Linked DNA regions of Homo sapiens: regions 1 and 2 are each linked to region 3. Evidence: promoter capture Hi-C in 16 types of primary human blood cells and fetal thymus (Javierre and others, 2016). All regions are on one chromosome and are shown on one strand. The core of a region is centred on a gene start or on the middle of the fragment in contact, and the rest is flanking DNA. Distances in the headings are between cores, read along the strand shown.

Region 1 (3,878 bases), core at 454-2,953, about 17 Mb after region 3:
CTTTTAGTACTAGAGACACTTCAAGTTTAATTTCACTGTGGGTCATACCACTAAATATTAAACAAAATAAATCGTAGGGCCAATCAGAAGGACCAAGAAACAGTGAAATAAATTTCAATGCTACTTCATTAAAAGCTTTTTCCAAATCTTCTTTGAGTTAATTATATTCCATTAGATCACATCATTTCATTAGAACCCCAACTTACATCTTAAAGTATTACACTGGAAAACCCATCCTTGTGACTTAAAAAAATTTTTTTTGTAGAGATGGAGTCTCACTATGTTGTCCAGTCTGGTCTTGAACTCCTGGCCTCAAGTGATCCTACTGCATTGGCCTCCTAAAGTGCTAGGATGACAGGCACGAGCCACCGCTCCTGGCATCCTTTGATCTTAAAGATATTCACCAACGAACGCCTACCTTGTGCTCACATGTAAGCCCTGGCAACTTATCTCTGATTAAAGTTGATATTTCTAAATTACATGTTTAGCTTTTCAAAAAATACATAAAATTAACTGTAATCTTACAATACAAAATTTCTCTGAAAATATCCAACTATGTACTAACTATTACAAATATTTATTCCTGATTCACTTTTTCCTTTCACTGTATTCAGGAAAGAAAGTTAATAAAAATGTAATTTAAAAAGAATGATTAAGCTGGGGACAGTGGTGTGTGCCTGTAGTCCCAGCTGGTCAGGTGCCTGAGGTGGGAGGATTGTTTGAGCCCAGTTCAAGGCTGCAGTGTGCTATAATCATGCCATTGCACACCAGCACAGGCAACATAGCAAGACCCCATCTCTTTAAAAAAAAAAAAAAAAGATTAAATTATTAACTTCTAAACTTGGCAATATGGAGAGGTATAGAATGCAGCAATATTTTAGCAGCATGGGCTGCGGATTCACCACTCAATGTGTTAACAGTACTGTAAATTTAATCAGTCAAATCAGGTGGTGTGCATTGTTTTTGAAAGCTTCTACATCTTATGTAAGTGTGTACAATAAGAAATCTGTTAGATTTGACTTGTTACAAAATAACTGTATCAGATCCATGGAAGCACAGGGCCTGAAGAGAGGAATTCTTTGTTTTCTTCTTTCACTGCCACACCTATTCCAGAAGATTCTCTGGAGACTTTAAAAAAAAAATCATTTTTCAGTTTTCCCACAGTAATTTGCCCAGAGCCAGTATCTACTGAGATAATAATTAAAACAGTGTGTCTGGTTTAAGGAGGCATCCAGATAAGGGCTTCCCATGCAGAGAAAGCACCCACAGGAGGGTCAATCTACAGAACTAAGCAAAGCCTGTTATCTGATAAAGATCAAAATTGACTATCTTTAAAACGTTTTTTAGCCATAAAAAAGGATTAGTTCATGTCCTTTGCAGGGACATGGATGAAGCTGGAAACCATCATTCTCAGCAAACTATTACAAGGACAGAAAACCAAACACCGCATGTTCTCACTCATAGGTGGGAACTGAACAATGAGAACACTTGGACACAGGGTGGGGAACATCACACACCTACACCAGGGCCTGTCAGCGGGTGGCGGGCTGGGGGAGGGATAGCATTAGGAGAAATAACTAATGTAAATGATGAGTTGATGGGTGCAGCAAACCAACATGGCACATGTATACCTATGCAACAAACCTGCACGCTGTGGACATGTACCCTAGAACTTACAGTATAATTTAAAAAAAAAAAGTTTTTTGTTGTTGTTTACTGTTACATGCAGATACAACTGAGTATTCACAATATTTTTTGGAGGAGACATTCATTCAACAAATGTGTAATGAACACCTCAAATGTTTTAATTAATAAGTTAGCCATCACACACATTTTATTTTGAGACAGGGTCTCATTCTGTCACCCAGGATGGAGAGTAGTTACTGCGATCTAGGCTCACTGCAACCTCTGCCTCCCCGGCTCAAGTGATCCTCCCACTTCAGCCTCCCCTGTAGCTGGGACTACAGGCATGCACCACCACACCATGCCCCGCTAATATATATATGTATGTATGTGTGTGTGTATATATATTTTTATATGTTTTATATATATTTATATATTATATATCTATATATAAATATATATTATATAAATATATATATAATATAATATATAAATATATATATAATATAATATATATTTTTTTTTGGTAGAGAGGGGGTTTCGTCATGTTGCTCAGGCTGGTCTCGAACTCCTGGGCAATCCACCTGCCTTGGCCTCCCAAAATGCTGGGATTACAGGCGTGAGCCACTGCCCTTATAAAGACATCACCCTCTTCCCTCCAGGAGAACATCTTGCTGTAGAGAGAAAAATAAGAGAAAAGGACAATCCTACCAATGTGTACTGAGTACTATTTAATAAGTACATACAAGAAGGATCCAGAAACTTTTGCAGGTGCACCGTGAGAAAAACAGATCCCCCTGGCTAGGAAGTAAAGAAAGCTTGGCTGGGCATGGTAGCTCACGCCTGTAATCCCAGCACTTTGGGAGGCCAAGGCAGGCAGATCATGAGGTCAGGAGATCGAGACAATCCCGGCCAACACGGTGAAACCCCGTCTCTACTAAAATACAAAAAATTAGCCCGACATGGTGGCGGGTGCCTGTAGTCCCAGCTATTTGGGAGGCTGGGGCAGAGGAATCGCTTGAACCTGGGAGGCGGAGGTTGCAGTGAGCCGAGATCGCACCACTGCACTCCAGCCTGGTGACAGAGCAAGACTCTGTCTCAAAAAAGAAAAAAAAAAAAAAAGGCCGGGCGCGGTGGCTCACGCCTGTAATCCCAGCACTTTGGGAGGCCGAGGCGGGTGGATCATGAGGTCAGGAGATCGAGACCATCCTGGCTAACAAGGTGAAACCCCGTCTCTACTAAAAATACAAAAAATTAGCCGGGCGCGGTGGCGGGCGCCTGTAGTCCCAGCTACTCGGGAGGCTGAGGCAGGAGAATGGCGTGAACCCGGGAAGCGGAGCTTGCAGTGAGCCGAGATTGCGCCACTGCGGTCCGCAGTCCGGCCTGGGCGACAGAGCGAGACTCCGTCTCAAAAAAAAAAAAAAAGGAAAGTTTTACCACGAAAACATGTGAGCTAACCATTAAATTATCTGGACTTGGCAAAATGTTGTTAATGGTTGAAGCTGGGTGATGAATAAATGGGAGGTTTTCGTACTACTTCACTACTTTTGTATGTATGAAAATTTCCTTAATAAAATTTTTAGAAAGTGACTTGGGAGGACAGCAACATTTCAGGGAGAAGGAATAGCATATGCAAAGGCAGAGGCACAAAACTTCCTTAGTTTAAGGAAGGAAACTAACAAATATAAACAAGCTATGCTTACTTGAAGTCAGAGGTGAGGGCTAGAAAGGAATAGAGCTTAAGGAAACCTGTTTTTACTTCTCTCCCAGATACAGAACTTCAAACTGTTTATGGTTGAGACACTCATGAAAAATTAGCCATATATTAAGTCTAAGAGATAAAATTATTACAAATGCTCAAAATGTAGTCTTGTAGTGCACACCATTAATCACAAAGTATATCTACTACAGCACACTTTTAAGTCCATTTTCAATTATTCAATAAACATTTGAGTTTATACCTCATAAGAAACTTGTTTAAAATCAACTGGCTTCAAATTCTTCAATAAATGATAGAGAAAACCATTTCAGGAATGCCAGAATTTAAACATGAGCTCATTCTGAAATTTCCTGTTACTTAACCAGGTATGCTTCTTTTCTAGCTAAAATACGAAAGGCTCACACTTCAGGGCTGGTACCTCCGGTGCATATAATAACTGGTTCTGGCTTTCTCTATGTCCCACAGCACTATTTTGTACCATACAATGAATATTTTAGTATATGGTGTTACGATACTTTAACACTAGACCAGTAGA
Region 2 (4,164 bases), core at 559-3,058, about 16 Mb after region 3:
GAAATATGGTATACTCATACAATGGAATATTATTCAGTCTTAAAAAGAACAAATTCTGCCACGTGCTACAACATGGATGAAACTTGAGGACATTACATGAAGTGAATTAAGCCAGCCACAAAAAGACTGAATGATTCTATTTTTATGAGGTACCCAGAGTAGTCAAATTCATAGAGACAGAAAGTAGAATGTGGTTGCCAGGGACAGCTTTAAGGGGGATAGGGAGTTATTGTTCAATGAGCATACAGTTTCAGTTTTGCAAGATAAAGAATTCTGAAGATGGATGGTGGTGGTGGTGGTGGTGGTGGTGGTGGTGGTGGTGGTGGTGGTGGTGGAATATGAACAATATGAATGTACTTAATAAATATAGTTAATGCCACTTTAACTGTACACTTAAAAATGATTAAGATAGGCAAGGTGCAGGATCTCATGCCTGTAATGCCAGCACTTTGGGAAGCTGAGGTGGGAGGATTACTGTGCTAAGGAGTTTGAGGCTGCAGTGAGCTATGATTGTGCCACTGCACTCCAGCCTGGGTGACAGAGCTAGACCACGTCTTGTAAAAAATTTAAAAAAAATTTAAAAATGATTAAGATAGTAAATTTTGTGCTATGTCTATTTCATCACATAAAAAATATGGAAAAATCAAGTGGCAAGTGTGTTTTCTGTAAAAAGATCGTTGCAACAACATTGCATTGAAGTCATTATTACTGTATTTCTATTGATTTTGTTGCATCCACTGCAGTTTCTGCTTTATAAAGGTGGTTGCTACGAGCATAGATATTAGGTGTTATATCTATGTCTACAGATACTCTTACATGTTACATTGTCACTGTGAATAGCAGTTTTTAGCATTATCAAGTATTCTTGCTTGTAGTACTTAACTCACCACATCAACAAATTGAAGAAAAATCTCAACAGATGTAGAAAATGCAGTTAATAAAATTCAACTCCTTAGCAAACTAGGACAAGAAGACATACTTATTAAAACCTACCGACAAAATGTCTACAGAAAATATAATAAGCAATGATTTCTTAAAATATTGAAAAATTTCCTTTGAGATTAAGAATAAGACAAGAATGCCCAGTATCATCACTTTAATTATTCAGCATTGTATTGGGTATCCTAGCCAGTGCAATAAGATGATAAAAAGAAATGAAAGACATGACAATTGAGAAGTATTTTTTTTAAAAAAAGCAGTCATTAAACATGGTTATATAGTTGTATATGTAGAAAAGAAGTGCAAAGGACTGAGAGTGACAAAACATTTTTGAAGAAGAAAAACAAAGGAGGACTTGTACCAGATAGCAGGACCTATTTTAAAAACTATAATAACTGAGACATTCTGCTTTGGGCCAAAGAAAGACAAACAGATCAATGGAACAGAAAAAGAAATCAGAAATTGTTACCTACATATATGGACTTGATTTTTTTCCCATATAATTGCACATCAGTGTGGAAAGGGTGGACTTCAATCAGCTGGAGGTATCATTGACATTAATTTCTTTTAACTTTAGAGAAATCTCTTAGGAGCTGATATCTCTCAGCATAAAGACATAATACAGCAATTTATTCAGTCTCACCTCAGTTTCTTTTTCTTCTGTTAAATTCAACTAAAATAGAAATCTCTTATTAAAAAAATAAAACTACCAATGTTAAATGGGCAATTTGATGAGTTTTAACAAATGTGGAGTCATGTAATCATCACCAAAACCAAGATATGGAACATTTCTATCATCCCACAATGCTCCTTTGTATACCTTTGAAGTCAATCACCTACCCTTCTCCCTGATCTCAGGCACTACTTTCTATGATTTTGTCTTTTCTGGAATTTCATATAAATAACATCATACAGTATGCTGTCTTCTATATCTGGCTTCTTGCACGTAGCACAATGCTTTTAAGATTCATCTATGTTGTTACTTGTGTCAGTTCATTCCTTTTTATTGCTGAGTAGTATTTCATTGTGTGGATAGTCCACAATTTGTTTATACATTCACATATTAATGGATATTTGGTTTCTTTCCAGTTTCTGTCTACTATAAATAAAACTTACGTACATTTGCATTCAAGTCTTCCTGTAAATGTGTTTTGATTTCTTCTGGGTAAATTCCTAAGAGTGAGATTTCTGGGTTCTATGTTAAGTGTATATTTAAATTTAGAAGAAACTTCCAAACTTTTCCCAAGTGAGTGTACTGTTTTGCATTTCCATCAGCAATGTATGAGGGTTTCAGCTGTTCTATACCCTCACTATTTCTCTTGTCAATTTTAGCCATTGTAGTGTGTAGAAGCATCTCATTTTTTCTAAATCTCTCTCAATTTTACTACCTAGAAATTTAAACTGCCAAACAATAAATTAGCTAAATAATTTTGTTTTGTTTTTTTGTTTAGACAGAGTCTTGCTTTGTCACCCAGGCTGGAGTGTAGTGGCACAATCTTGGCTCACTGCAACCTCCGCCTCCCAGGTTCAAGCGATTCTCCCGCCTCAGCCTCCCAGGTAGCTGGGGCTACAGGAACCCGCCACCATGCCTGCCTAATTTTAGTATTTTTAGTAGAGACAGGGTTTCACCATATTGGCCAGGCTGGTCTCAAACTCCCGACCTTGTGATCCGCCTGCCTTGGCTTCCCAAAGCCTTTTAATGTCTACTTTCTTTTAATTTTAAAGAAATCTCTTAAGAACAAATACTGATTTTGGTACGAAGAAACCAATTATACAAATTCCTTCAGTGTCACTTCAGTTTTTTTCATCTCTTACATTCAACTAAAATATTTTATTTATAAAGATCAACTAATTTTACTTTCTCATCTATACCGTTATGTATTTTTGAAAATTTCTGCCATGAACATTTTTGCTTTTTTTTTTAATTATTATTATTTTTTGAGACGGAGTCTTGCTCTGTCGCCCAGGCTGGAGTGCAGTGGCACTATCTTGGCTCACTGCAAGCTCTGCCTCCCGGGTTCATGCCATTCTCCTGCCTCAGCCTCCCAAGTAGCTGGGACTACAGGCGTCCGCCACCACGCCCAGCTAATTTTTTGTATTTTTAGTAGAGACGGGGTTTCACCACGTTAGCCAGGATGGTCTCAATCTCCTGACGTCGTGATCCGCCCGCCTCAGCCTCCCAAAGTGCTGGGATTATAGGCGTGAGCCACTGCGCCTGGCCTGCTTTTTATATTCAAAAAAAAAAAAACCAGTAAATATTAGTTTCTTAGAGAAAAAAATGAATTGAGAAAATGGTCTTTAAAATAGACAGTAGAGGCAATACAATATTCCTATTTTCATTTTGAAACTGAGTAGAAAATCTTGGAGCTACATTATCAAATGTAGTATTCTTTATTTTCTCTTATAGGTCTAGTAGGACATAATTTCCTTCGTTCCTAAATGAGAACTCAGCATGACCATTAAGGAGTAGCTCACAGCAACCTCCAATATCTGACATTTGCCTAGTGCCTCTGGAAGGTTGTTGGGGTTTTTCCCCCCTTGTTTGGTAGCAAAAGTGGTATTGTATATCTATTGTACCTCCTGCTCCCTTTTCCCCTTCTCCACTCTGGAGCCCAATACCCTCCTAACCAACCCCCATCAGAATACTTAAATGAAGACACAGCAAACACCGTGTTCTCCGTAAGTTATAGATAAAGAAAACGTGGAATAAACACAAGTTATTTTTTTCTTCAATGTTTATTATTTTCGTATTTTTTCACTTAATACTACATAAAATCTAAGATCTCAGCTCTTGGAATACAGAAAAATAGTTTCAAAGTGTATTTTAGCAAAACAATTTATAATGAAATTAGCATTTGTGAATTAAGCATGTCAACATTACTGTGTTGCTTGTTAGGCACACTGCTTATTTGTACAGCTTTATCAGTCAGTTCCATCATTTCAATATTTTGGCCCACCACACCACTTTGAAACATGTAATGAAGGGCAAGTTTTATAATAAAAAAAACAACTTGGCATTACTCAACGGGAAGTCAGTACATGTTTTTTGCAAGGAGAACAACATAACTGTTTAATGATGCTGTCTTCAATATACTACCTAATTCTGTTTATGCAACTTCTCACCAGGTAATTGTTTTTTATGGTCAGTTTTGCTTTTCTTTGTCCCCCTAGTCAAGGGAGAGTTTGTTAGTGTTGTTATCTGGAAATTTCCTTCATGTCGAATAA
Region 3 (3,918 bases), core at 598-3,097:
TGAACTCGGGAAGATGAGGTTGCGGTGAGCCGAGATCATGCCACTGCACTCCAGCCTGGGCAAAAAGAGCAAAAAAAAAAAAGAAAGGAAGAATATAAAAACACACAGGACATTAAAACCACAGAGTAAACATGATTTAATTTTGATAGCCCTGACTCAGAGCAGAACTAGACGGTAGGAAAAACTATGTTTGAGCCCATGTAATAATCTAAAAGATGTCTATTAAAATAAATCTTATTTTATTCTTTGAATACATTAAGAAGCTGACCTGTAATCTCACTCTTGTTCTTGTTCTTAAAACCGTCAAATGCACAATGAAACTCCCCAAGTGTATTAATTTGAACCCTCTGGTTGTTTGGATTGTGGATAAACATAATAAGTCAAAATTTATTCTCCTCTCATTAATGGAAAACTATAAACCACTTGATTGCTTTGAAGAAGTACCCTCCAGCAAGGTAAGTGTTAAACCTTATCCTAGGAAAAGACAAATACTATGTAAACATTAACATGCATGCCCTGTTTCGCACTGGTATGCCAATTGTCACTTCCCTCTTCTGTTATTTAGGATAGAACAAGATGATATCCAAATAGATTATGCTGGAATATTCTATAATCCTTTCCCAAGGGAAAAAGTGTGGTGTCCAGGTAACCCTGTGTATTTCATTTAAATCACATGAATGAAGATTAGATCCAGTCACCCCTCAGCCTATCCCTGAGGCCTACCCTGGCCCTCTCTTTTGCAGTAAACCTTTGTTACTGCAAAACCATTTGCAAATAAACAAGGTGAGCGGATCTGGACTGGTGCTGTGCAAGCAACGGGACACCGGTGCAAAGCCTAGCCCCGCCTTGCAAAGCTAGCGTTACAGAGGCAGGGCTGACACCGGGCCCAGCCGGGACCCAAGCCAGCTCCACCGCCCACTGGAGACGCCCCCACCCCACCACCGAGCGCTACCCCCCGGGGATCCCCGACAGACCGCGGCAGGACCCCGCCTCGATCTGCTGGCGCCCGGTCCCTCCCCCAGGACACTTTCAAGCGGAGTCCCCCTTCCTCCGATAGAAGAAACCCCTGGGCCTTTGACCGAGGTTAGCCAGGCAGGCAGGGCGTCGGACAAGCCCAACGAGCCCACGAACTCGCAGCCCGCCTCCGGCGAATCTTGCAGCCCTGCCGGCCGACCCTTCAGGTCGCTGCCAATCCCGGAGCTGCGCGTGCGCAGCGAGTCCCGGCTGCGAGGCCCCTGACTCGCCAACTCTGCTGCTGAGCATGCGCAGCACACCCCAGGCAACAGAAACGGACCGCCGACCCCCACCAGCCCCGCTGCTGAGCATGCGCAGCCCACCCCAGGCGCCGGAAGCCGACCGCCAACCCCGTAAACTTCGCTGCTGAGCATGCGCAGCACACCACAGGCGCTGGGGGCTGACCGCCGACCCCTCAACGCCGCTGCTGAGCATGCGCAGCACACCCAGGCGCCGCGCAGGAGGCCCTGACCACCCAGCCCCACTGCTGAGCATGCGCAGCCCACCCCAGGCACCGGGAGCCGCCACGAACCCCCAAATCCCGCTGCTGAGCATGCGCAGCATGCCGCGGCTCCCAGGCCGCTGCCCGGCACCTGGAGGAGGCTGGGCTGTGCGCGGCGTTTGGGGGTCGGCGTCGCCCGCACGCTCTGCGAGGCTTGGGCTCGCGTACCTTCCAGTAGAGCACCCCGAGCCGCCGCAGCTGCTCCAGGCCCACTGGGCGGCCGGGGTCGGGGCGGTGGGGTTGCCGCGGGTCGCCCGGGGCGTCGTCCATATACCAGGCCTGCACCATGACGCGCAGTGCGGGTGCCGTGTTCGAACCCAGGGGCCGCGCTCGGAGCCCGTCGGCCGCGCTTTATCTTATAGGGAGGCGTGGACGCGCATGGGAGCCGGGATTGGGCGGCTGGTTGGAGGCAGGGCCGGCGCGGGGGAGGCCCCACGGCTCCGCTGTTTTCGGAAGCAAAGGCATTCAAGCCCCGACCCTGTCCTGGGCACCCTCGGACCTGCCTGAGGCCCGCGGCCCGGGGCCAGCCGTTCGCCAGACGCGCCGGGCAGGTGAAGCTCACCGTAGGCATCGCACGTGCCTTGTGTGTGCTGCCGCGGTCTCCCTGCACCTTCAGAGCAATCTTGTGAGGCAAACGACGTTAAACGTGTTTAGAGTATGGAAAGCAAATGCAAAAAAAAAAAAAAAAGAATAAGGATTTTGTTAAGCTCATGCAGTCCATATGGGCACAGTTGAGACTTCACAGCTCGGATCCCAGGTGAGACATTGTCCTCCACCTCCCCGCTCGCCAGACTTTTGCAGTGTCGGCATTCTGCAGTGCTACCCTGTACTTTTTAAACTTCCTCTTGTTTCCTCTTTTCATCGTTTCTCCCTTCCCCATACACTGTAATGTGCTAGTCTTAGAATAAAAACAAGCTTCCCCTATCCCATTCTGAATTTTTCAATGTAGCTAATAAAGTCCAGCCGCTTGACCATCCTAGATGTCTTTTCAAACCAACGAGTTGAAAAAGATCAGATTATCTCAGCCATTCCCTCAGTCTCTTTAACAAATAACGATAAAGCAGACAGGATTTAAATGAGACTGCTGTAAGAGCACAACCCCAATGCATGCAATTGACTCTTGAACTTCCAGAAATATTGCAAGAAAAATACACACTTATTTCATTTCTGTTCCCTTGCTCTAATGGCTTTGCAAATACATCCTCCTTAGAGAGCCTACCTCTCCACCTCTTCACTTGACCAGTTACTACTCATCCTTCAAGAACACACCTTAGACGCCATTGCCCATTTTTCTGCAGCACTCATGACAAACCTTCATGCAAGAATCTAATGGCAATCTCGCACCTCGCATTTTCTCCTTAAGCCACTGCAATAAGGCTTCGCTTCTCACCACTGGGGAACTGCTAATGACTGCCATATTGCCAGATCCAATCATGGCACTTCTGTTCTTACCAGCAACATTCGTCACAGTTGCCCACGCCCTTCTTGAAACATTTTCTCATTTTCCTTCATGAGGGCATCTTGGCTGCTCCTTCCCAGGCCCCTCCTAGCTCCTGCTCCTCTAACCACTGGTTAGTGGAGCGTTCCAGACTCTCCTCGTCCTGTTCCTATCCACTCACTCCAGGCGACTTTCCATGCTGTGCTGCCGGCTCCTGCAGCCACATCTCCAACCTGGACCTCATTCCAGAACCTCAGGCTTGAGTATCCAGTTGGTGTTGTCACATACATGGCTAATCAGTGTGTCAAACCTAACATGGCCAAAACAACTGATTCCCCACACACACCCCCAAACATGCTTCTCCCTAACCTTTCCCGTCTCAGTGAACGGCAGCACTGACTGCCCAGTGGCTTAATAAAAAAATCTAGGTGTACTCTCAGTTTTGCTTTTCCTCACCCTCAAGATCCAATCCAATCTATCAGCAAGTCATGTTGCTTTGACCTTCGAAACACACCGCAAATCCATTCACTTCTCTCCAGCCCAACTCTTTCTGCAGTCTTTTCTTGCCTGATGGAATTGACTACTGAAATTCCCCCTCCTCACACCGCTTCCATTTTTGCCCCAGTGCAATCCATTCTATGCACAGCACCCAGAGTGACCTTTTAAAAATAGGAGCCAGATGCCAGGCACTGTGGCTCACGCCTGTAATTCCAGCACTTCGGGAGCCCAAAGAGGGTAGATCACTTGACCAGCCGAGGCAACATGGTGAAACCCCGTCTCTACTAAAAGTACAAAAATTAGCTGGCCGTGGTGGTTTGCACCGCTAGTCCCAGCTACTCTGCAGGCTGAGACAGGAGGATTGCTTGAGCCTGGGAGTCTGAAGTTGCAGTGAGTTGAGATTGTACCACTGCACTGTAGCCTGGGTGACAGAGCAAGACTCTGTCTCAAAAAACAAACAAACAAA

Evidence for each region. Contacts are between HindIII fragments. The CHiCAGO score rates a contact against its expected background, and 5 or more counts as called.
Region 1: a fragment that was not itself captured here is called in contact with the fragment with the promoter of ADI1 in region 3 in 1 of 17 cell types (non-activated CD4 T cells); the score reaches 7.8 in non-activated CD4 T cells.
Region 2: a contact is called between a fragment that was not itself captured here and the fragment with the promoter of ADI1 in region 3, in 1 of 17 cell types (total B cells). The highest score is 8.2, in total B cells.

Annotation. Positions count from the first base shown.
Region 1 is chr2:20,044,664-20,048,541 of GRCh38, forward strand. The region is part of intron 1 of LAPTM4A (lysosomal protein transmembrane 4 alpha); the gene reads right to left. Among named protein-coding and RNA genes, the nearest start is that of LAPTM4A, 5.0 kb to the right of the region's middle. The HindIII fragment of the contact is 1,471 bases long and covers 969-2,439 here.
Region 2 is chr2:19,906,604-19,910,767 of GRCh38, forward strand. It overlaps WDR35 (WD repeat domain 35), which reads right to left. Exons shown (of 27, transcript NM_020779.4): 27 at 3,660-4,164. Among named protein-coding and RNA genes, the nearest start is that of TTC32, 6.7 kb to the left of the region's middle. The HindIII fragment of the contact is 4,962 bases long and covers 1-4,164 here.
Region 3 is chr2:3,517,684-3,521,601 of GRCh38, forward strand. ADI1 (acireductone dioxygenase 1) reads right to left here and starts at 1,848. Exons shown (of 4, transcript NM_018269.4): 1 at 1,685-1,848. The coding sequence starts at 1,804. It overlaps LOC124907725 (a long non-coding RNA gene), which reads left to right and starts at 1,863. Exons shown (of 2, transcript XR_007086195.1): 1 at 1,863-2,273. RefSeq lists silencers at 755-954, 1,435-1,494, 1,575-1,894, 1,965-2,094 and enhancers at 1,514-2,035, 2,036-2,556. The HindIII fragment of the contact is 6,500 bases long and covers 1-2,429 here.